Linked DNA regions of Homo sapiens: all the other regions are linked to region 1. Evidence: promoter capture Hi-C in 16 types of primary human blood cells and fetal thymus (Javierre and others, 2016). All regions are on one chromosome and are shown on one strand. The core of a region is centred on a gene start or on the middle of the fragment in contact, and the rest is flanking DNA. Distances in the headings are between cores, read along the strand shown.

Region 1 (2,811 bases), core at 211-2,710:
ACTAATTGCATGCAGAAGTTAGAAATGATATGGTCAAACAATGTTATTCTCCTGAATTAGTGATTAAGGCTATCAGATTGTGACTACTCAAAAAAAAAAAAAGCCATTAAACTGAAGTTGCCATTCATACAAACTGACTACCACTAAAGTAGATTTGAGGTTATCTAGGGTTAGAGTGAGAATGGGAAGCAAATGAGCATGGACTTTTTAAATGTTCTAAAATTAAATTGAGGTAATGATTGCATGACTCTGTAAATAAATTACAAATCACTGAATTGTAAAAAAGCAAAATAAAAACTTTTTGCCAAATATCCCTCTTCACTAACACAGGGACTGTTAGTATTTTCAGTTGTGCCTTTAGTGGCCAATTCATACATTTAGGCTTTGGAGCCAGATGGCCGAGGCTGAAACATGACCTCTGCCACTTAGTGCCTCGATGAGTTACATACAACCTTCTGGGCCACAATTTCCTCTGCTGAAAAATGGGAGAAATGACAGGCTACATCATTGGATTACTAAGAAAAATAAGTGAATTGATTTGTGGAAGTGATACAGTAACTTCTCAATAAATGTTTAGTTACCAATCCATATCTTTTATTTAATTATAATTTTTAATATCAGAAATAATTGGCTATTGCTGCAAAGGGTTAATCTGATGGGGAATTCTACATAAAATTCTTTGTAGATAAGCACTATCCTACACAATACAGATGACATACTTCTAATTTTCATTCACAATCCAGGGCCCCTCCAATTCAAGTATATTCAGATTATCTTTCTAAAGCATGCTTCTCATTTTTTCCTCAAACTTTCAATGCTCCTGTCTTCCCCCCAGACTCCTGTCCCTAGTGCCTGCAACTGCCTACAAGGACAAGGTACAGAACATATAAAGTCATTGCATTGCACCGAATCCAATTGTAAGCGGCTCTCCGAACCCTCACCAATTTATTATTATTATTATTATTATTTGGCTGTTTTCTTTCTCTGTGCCACTTACTCCATTTTCCAGATACTTCAAATTCCTCACTCAGCCAAAAACACCATTCTTTCACGCAAATCTTCCTTTCACAATTGCAATTTCTTCTGCCTAGACTGTGGTCAGCCTTGAAAAACTCCTGTACATCCTTTGTGACCCAACTCGAATGTCACATCCTCTAGCTGACCTCAATCTTCATTGTGACCTCATAATAAGACATATACACCCCTACTGAAGCGTAAGTTCCCCCTCTCCACCCTTCAGGCCCTGCAGCCACTGTCTGCCCACACAGTCCCAAATGTTATCACAATACTAAGCTATTGTGCATTATATGTGATTCACCTCAGAGCCACAGCATATTTTCTTTTCTCTTCCAGAAAAACTTCTTCCTCTCTACTTTCCCCAAGCCACTCACCTCGCAAACTCCTACAAGTTTGTCAGACCTCAGTTTAGTTCAGATCGGATGCATTCAGGGTGTTATGGCAGGAGACAGACATGATCATAGGAAACTTCCTCAGATCTTCCAAGACTAGGTTTGCTTTGTCCCTGAATATGCTTCCAGAGTACCCTCTGCTGACCCTGAGTACTGGTCTATAGCACCAAATGGAAGACTGTCTGTCGATACACATTTTGTGACAGGCTCAGTTTTGTATAACTATTGTCAATCTCCATAACCCTAGCACATAGGAAGTCTCTGGCACATATCAGATGCTCAATATCGGTTGAGTGAATGTATTAATCATCTCCTTTAAAACCAGAGTCAGTGGATTGAAGGGTAAGTATATTATATCTCAAAAAGCTATTATTTAAAAATAAATCTGAATTACCAGTCTATCTTTCTCATTGTAGTTTTACCTCTCAGTTGCTGGACAGAGGTCTTACATGCTTGCATCCCTATCGTGGAGCCTGAAACCTACAAGTTGCTCAATAATGTTTACTGAAATTTCATAAAAATAAAATATTATGCCAGATTCTCAGCCACTGAACTACTTTCTACAAATGACCAATTTATATGAAGCTCCTCAGTAGGTAAATTGATAGTGATATCACAAATCAAGCAGCTGGAAGATTCACTGCTTTCAACATTCACATTTCACAACTAACAATTGGGTCCAGTAAGTGAATTACCCGAGATCGTGCAAATAGGATCACAAAGAATGCCTTCTCCCTAATCAATATCATTAGTGGTATCTAACTTAGAAAGACTGTTGTAATCACAGTAGTCAGATTTAGTGTTATGAGTATGGACTCTGCCAGCAACAAATCACCAAATACAGGTGATGAAAGCTATAGCTAGAAATAAATAGATCACTAGTGGGTTTTTGAAAACATGATCAGATTAAACAGGTGTTGATATGCATGAGAAGAGGAATAAACTCTTGGTTTGATGTAAGTCATTATTTGGCAGTTGTGTAATATCTGATAATCCTTCTAGGCTCTATTTACTCAAAGACCAGGAACTATAAGTATATCTGCTTCATAGGACAGAAGCCAGTGAAATTGGAGACAAATATTTTACATACCACAAATATGGTATTCAGGCAATGATGATAACAGCATCATTCTATAAGACCAACTGTATGACAGGCTTTGTTTTAAGCACTTTAGACACACTTTACACACGGCTTTGACTATAAACTGCATCTTTTTTTTTCCCTACTAACCTACTAACAAAGAACCAACAGGTGTCACTTAATATGTGTTACAATGGTTTCTTACCACATCAATCATAGGATGTGTTTCAATTTTCAAGAAATTAAACTGTGAGAAAGATATTTTATAGGATACAAGTAATAGAGTATAATACATTTAATAGTCCTAACAATCCTATGAGA
Region 2 (2,811 bases), core at 215-2,714, 390 kb before region 1:
CCCTCACAATGCCAAACACAGTGGCTATTGATGCAAACTAAACATTCAAAAAAATATTTCTTGAGCTGAAATGAATTAAACTGAAATGAATTGGAGTGAATCAGATTGCCGTGGATGGGACTGAACTAAACTGAATGGGACCTTGTAAGAAAGAAGAACAGATTCTAGAATTTATATTTGACTTTGGTTTCTCTTAGGCCAAAGCTGTTTCAGTGATAATAAGGCAGCATGAGGGCTGTGCATGGATTCTGTGGCCAGAATGTCTAGGTTCAAACCTCAGCTCCACCACTCACAACTTCTGTGATGTTGGATAAGTTACTCAACATTCCTGTGCCTCCCTGAGTAAAGCAACAATAATGATAGTACCTGCCTCATAGAATTGCTATAAGGAATCCATTCAATGAATTAATTGTTATAAATCCCTTGGAATAATGCCTAGCACATAAAACATACAATATAACTTTTTTAATAAAATAATTTTTAAAAATCACTACTTTGAATTGCATTGCATTTTACATGTGGCAACTCATATTTCATCCGTATAAGAAGAATGATTTTCATTTATCCAATAAGAAAACTGAGGCTCATAAAAACAAATGCAGAATAAGAACTCGAGCAGGACATACACTGTTGTAGAAGTTGAGCCCAGTTCTGTCTTATTTAAGGCATGCTTTCAGTTCAGTAGGCACCCTTTCCTTATGATATCTCTGGCCATTTTAACAGGTAGTTCTGACTATAGTGTATGCTATTGGTCACCTGATAGACAAGAGTTATGTAAAGTCACAGTATCCTCAGTATTATCGGAATAAGCTTTCTCTTACCCGGTGCTCACGAAAGCAAAGGATTTTAGTCTGGGTAAAGATGAAAGATCTATGACATAGTGTGACAGAAAAAGCCCCAGTAAGGAAGTTGAAAAAAGTGAATTCTGGCCCTGGCTCAACCACTGGCTTCTGTGATATCAATAACTAACATGTACTGAGAGCTTACTCTGTGCCATCTACTGCATTTATATCATTTAAACCTCACCACAAAACTCAGGCACAGATACTTTTATTATGCCACTTTTCAGGTAAGGAAACTGAGGTTTAGCAAAGACAAGTAACTTATTCAAGATCAAATTGCTTTTAAGTGGTATAATTCATCTTAATGATCTCAAAGGTACTTTCCAACCCAGTCCACCTATAATTGAGTGAGCTCTTGCCTAATCCTCACTCCTCTAGAGGGGTGATCCTGTGGTTCTAGCCAACTTTAAGTCAAATCCCAGGCACCTCAAGGCCTCCCAGGATGCCAGTGTTGAAAAACTGGTGAATTATTGCATAATGTGGGGTTTTACAATCATCGAAAGAATAAAACAGAAAAGAAAAATTAGCAAAAGGTAAAGCCTTAAATCTTTCCCCGTTCATACATTTCATACCTTTATTTACAAAGTTGGTAATTGTGAAGTTCATTCCATTTTGTATTTTTCTTTCTTCACTTAAAATACTATCATGAACAATTTTCCTTATTGATAATAGTTATATTTTAGAATTACAGAATTTGACTATGAAATTTTCAAGGTTCATTTCTAATTCCAAAAACAAAGTCTGGCCTGTTCTTATTTTTTTGGACTTTTTTCCTTCATTCCAACAGAGTCATTGTAATTACTACATGAGTGACGAGCAATAACCACCAAATGATACTTGGCCAAAATATCACAATAAAATGATTACCTTGTTGCTAAATATTTAAGTTGCTTCTAGTGTATTTGGCTAAAATATCACAATAAAATGATTACCTTGTTGCTAAATATTTAAGTTGCTTCTAGTGTATTTGCTATTACACATAATGCTGCAATGAACATCTTTGCACAGCATATTATTTCTATAACATGCATTCCCCAGAAGACAAGGCTACAACGAGTGTGTCCATGTTTATGGCTTTTACATTTTGAAAAAGCAAGATGTAATATTGATAGTGTCCACATATGGCCCTACACTGTTCAAATCTTAAGACATCAAACATTGGATCTTGTTCTAGATCCTGAGTGACTATTACTGAATTGCTAAAGTGAACAAACATTAATTTAACAGAGGGTTTGAAAGCTGAATTCTTGGGGCCTAGTTCAGAGACAAAGCTTACTTACTGTCAAGGGGAAAAGGATCTGCGGAAAGTGCCTGCAAAAAGGAGACTTATGGAAATAAAAACGGATCTTACAGGAATTGTTGAAAGACCAAATCCTCAGGAGATTAGCACTCAGGAGATATTAAGTAAACCAGTTTTCCTGGATCTCACTCTGATATCTGAATCTTAATACTAAAGAAATACTTTCACCTATTACAGTTCAGTGTCAGCTAATCAGAAATTTTGGCTAAAGCTAGGAATCATATAAATACATATATTTTAACTTAAGACTTTCACTTGCCAGTAGGTAGAGCCAAGGCCTCTCTTTAAGTGCACATTTTCCATTTGTGAAGCTCCATCTCATTTTTCTTGAATAAATCACTCCCATCATGCATCCTCTATTAGTTGAAGTTTCAGGTATTTTTGTTTTTGTTTTCTTTTCTTTTGTTCTTTGTAGCAGATAAAAACCTTAGAAACTTGCACAATTATTCTGGATTTTAATCTTTGTGTTATTCTTCTACAGTTATCTCATCCACAAACTAATTTTAGATCATTTTTTCAGCAATTCTTCCCTCTTGAGCCTTTCCAAAGCAATCAATTTAATTTTTATGGACACAGTCTCTTTATTTTTATACTTATATTTCATCTATTTGCATAATATTTAAATTATATAATTGCATTTACTAATAAAAGTAGCATAAACGGGTTTGA
Region 3 (2,811 bases), core at 160-2,659, 270 kb after region 1:
AACAGATTACCCAAATGTTTAAATTAGAACAATGATGTCCCTGGATGATGGACTCATTAGGGTTATTTTAATTTTCATCATACTTTTGTGCATTTAACTTTTTAAAAAGAGTCTATGTAACTTTCATAATTGAAAAAGAAATGTCTGTTCTGTTTTAGGGATGATAAAAGTCCCTTTGTTGAGATTACAAATAGGAAGGTATTTTTCTGTTTACAGAGTACTTTCATAGGCATTAACTCATCTGAGCCATTCAACAACTCAGAGAAAGGGGTTTGATGATGATCTCCAGAGACAGACAGCAGAGCGGTGAAGCTCATAACTCGAAATGTGACACAGGCAGACCTGGCTCAAGGCTTCCTGGTGCCCTACTGTCTTCTTTACAATGTCCATCCATTTTTCTCAAGAAAGGAGTTTTGTCTTAGTTTGCTTTCTAAAAGGGTTCCAAAACTGTTTTACTTCCCTCTCATCCCAAGGTCCAACATCCTATTTTTTTAAAAACAAGAACCAAGAATCAAAAAACAGATAGCCCACCCCAGATGCCTCACCTCACAGTGGGACGGGGAGACTATTCAAGAACTTTAAAATTCACTGTTGCTATTTTCGCATATTCATACAGCCAATTATCCTAACGGGACTTGTCCAACCTATTAAGGGGATATCCAGGCACAATTTTAAAAAAAGACACAGTCTGACCTAGAAAGGGAATCAGAGACGAAGATTCAAAAGCTGCTTAAGACGACGTAATGCTGAGGGAGAATTATAGTCAGCATCGAAGAAGCAACACAGCTCAAATGTGCCTGGTCTTGGAATGACTCACCGGTATTGCTGTGACGCTTTCCTGTCCCATTGATCAGACAGGTTTTTCCATTAGAATTTACTGACGACGTGCTCCCCAGTAAGTTGGTAAGATCAATTCTGTAGTTTTAAAATAAGGAAGATATGACTGAAATGTTAGAACACAGTCTCCACGCAGCACACACAAAAAAGCCCAGGGAGAGTCCGAGGCTGTGTGAAGGAAAAGTGGCCTCCCTTCTAGCTCAGCCCATGAGCAAGTTCACCCGTCTGTCTGCTCTGGGTTTTTTGATAAAGAGTTAACTGATTCTGATACAATCTGCTGCCTTATTAAGATGTAAGACACATAAGTTAGAGAGAGAGTGTGTGTATATGGGAAAAGTCTGGGCCTGCTTAGGGCCTGGGGCAAGAGTAGAAGCTAGGTCTTCATAAAAAGGCTGAAGCCTATAGAATAAGATGGAGCCTCATGACTGGCCTCATGGGGCTAAGCTTCCCTCTGCTCATGCAAACTTCTAGAACAGAACCCATCCCACACTGGGCAGAATAAATACTCATGATGGGAATGGGCCTGGGGTAGAAAGAAACAGATGGTCAGGACGCTGAGCTTTTGTTCCTTTATAGGATTGTTCAGCTTCCTCTCCAGCTGAGACCACACCCTTTTTGTGACCTTCTCACTCTTTTCATGCCCTGAGTGTGTCTTTTTCATCCTCATACCGATGGATTAAATGTCTTTTCAGAAAGCTTTCACTTTATGCACTGCAGGCCATAAGTAAATTGATACCCGTAAAGTTTGAGAAGGGGTACTCATGAGAAGCGCCTCACGAGAAGTGTGTGCCCTAGTCCAGACCCAAACATTTAGGGAGATGAGCTGAATTCTGGTAAAACCTCCCTAAGTGAGTCTTATCCACAGACTTAGGTGAGAACAATTGCTGTGTGGAGCAATCACCAACAATGGTATTTAAGAGAAGCAAAGGTAAAATAAGCAATGGGGTAGCCAGGCTAGTGCCCCCAGGAGGATCAGTGGCCAGTAGCCTGTGCTCATGGTGGACAAAGGGAGGGGGCCCAGAGAGTGACCAGGATAACAGAACGGCATCCATTCTGGACAAGGAAACAGAAAGCTGTTCCCAAGAAAAGAGAAGTGTGATCTGTCGAGGATTTCCAGAGAAGAGGATCCTATTAGGATCGTATCAGGAGCTCATTGGGCTTGCTACCACAATTGGGAAATTTGGGCAGGATTTGGGTTTGGAGAGATAGGTTTGCAAAGGATGTTCATTTCAGGAAGGCTATCAACCAATCTATACAATATATTCAGTTTATTAACTTGGAAAAAAGATAACAGTAGGTAAAAGTAGATGAGCACATTCTCTGTAAATTACTTTAATTATTGTTGAAACAATGATAGGCTCTGAAGAAACTTCCCATTGGAGAAAATTTGTCATAGGCTCCCAATTCAAAGATACATAATCCATCATGGCTACTACATTTCTATGACATATGTCTTTTGCCAAAATGAAGTAGTGAGCTCAACTAAGTACCTCTACCTGATCCCTTTGAATGTCAAAACCAAGTCCAATTCAGTTGTCTCATCAGTCTCTAGAAACATATCCTTATTGTTTCACTTCAATATGAAATGCTCAATATGAAATTAAGGATTAAGCTGGGTAATGAAACCTAGCCCCAGTGTCCTTTGATAATGACTTTTGTATTAATAGTTTCTTCATATATAAAATGGAAGGGGAAAGAAAAGATTTTAGTTAATAACCAAGATAGCTGTTCAGCTTGAATCACTATATAAACTACTGACTCACATTTTAAAACCTGATAGGCAATCTTTTGTTTTCTTTAAGCAACATATAGTCTCTCATTTGTACCATCAATCTATTCAATTCCTGATTTCCAAGAATCTTTTCTGCTTTATTCACAATTCCAAAAATAGAATTTATCTACTTGATTAGAGCCTCCCATCTATTGTAGTATTACGGAATTTATGTCTTTACCCCTTGGAATTTTTTACCCTAC

The links. Contacts are between HindIII fragments. The CHiCAGO score rates a contact against its expected background, and 5 or more counts as called.
Region 2: a contact is called between a fragment that was not itself captured here and the fragment with the promoter of LPP-AS1 in region 1, in 1 of 17 cell types (M2 macrophages). The highest score is 5.1, in M2 macrophages.
Region 3: a contact is called between a fragment that was not itself captured here and the fragment with the promoter of LPP-AS1 in region 1, in 1 of 17 cell types (naive B cells). The highest score is 6.0, in naive B cells.

The regions. Positions count from the first base shown.
Region 1 is chr3:188,567,315-188,570,125 of GRCh38, reverse strand. It overlaps LPP-AS1 (LPP antisense RNA 1), which reads left to right and starts at 1,460. Exons shown (of 2, transcript NR_046623.1): 1 at 1,460-1,751. All of the region lies in intron 6 of LPP (LIM domain containing preferred translocation partner in lipoma), which reads right to left. The HindIII fragment of the contact is 3,783 bases long and covers 1-2,811 here.
Region 2 is chr3:188,957,596-188,960,406 of GRCh38, reverse strand. No RefSeq gene overlaps it. Among named protein-coding and RNA genes, the nearest start is that of TPRG1-AS1, 11 kb to the right of the region's middle. RefSeq lists an enhancer at 2,723-2,811. The HindIII fragment of the contact is 1,303 bases long and covers 813-2,115 here.
Region 3 is chr3:188,297,361-188,300,171 of GRCh38, reverse strand. All of the region lies in intron 2 of LPP (LIM domain containing preferred translocation partner in lipoma), which reads right to left. Among named protein-coding and RNA genes, the nearest start is that of FLJ42393, 120 kb to the right of the region's middle. The HindIII fragment of the contact is 252 bases long and covers 1,284-1,535 here.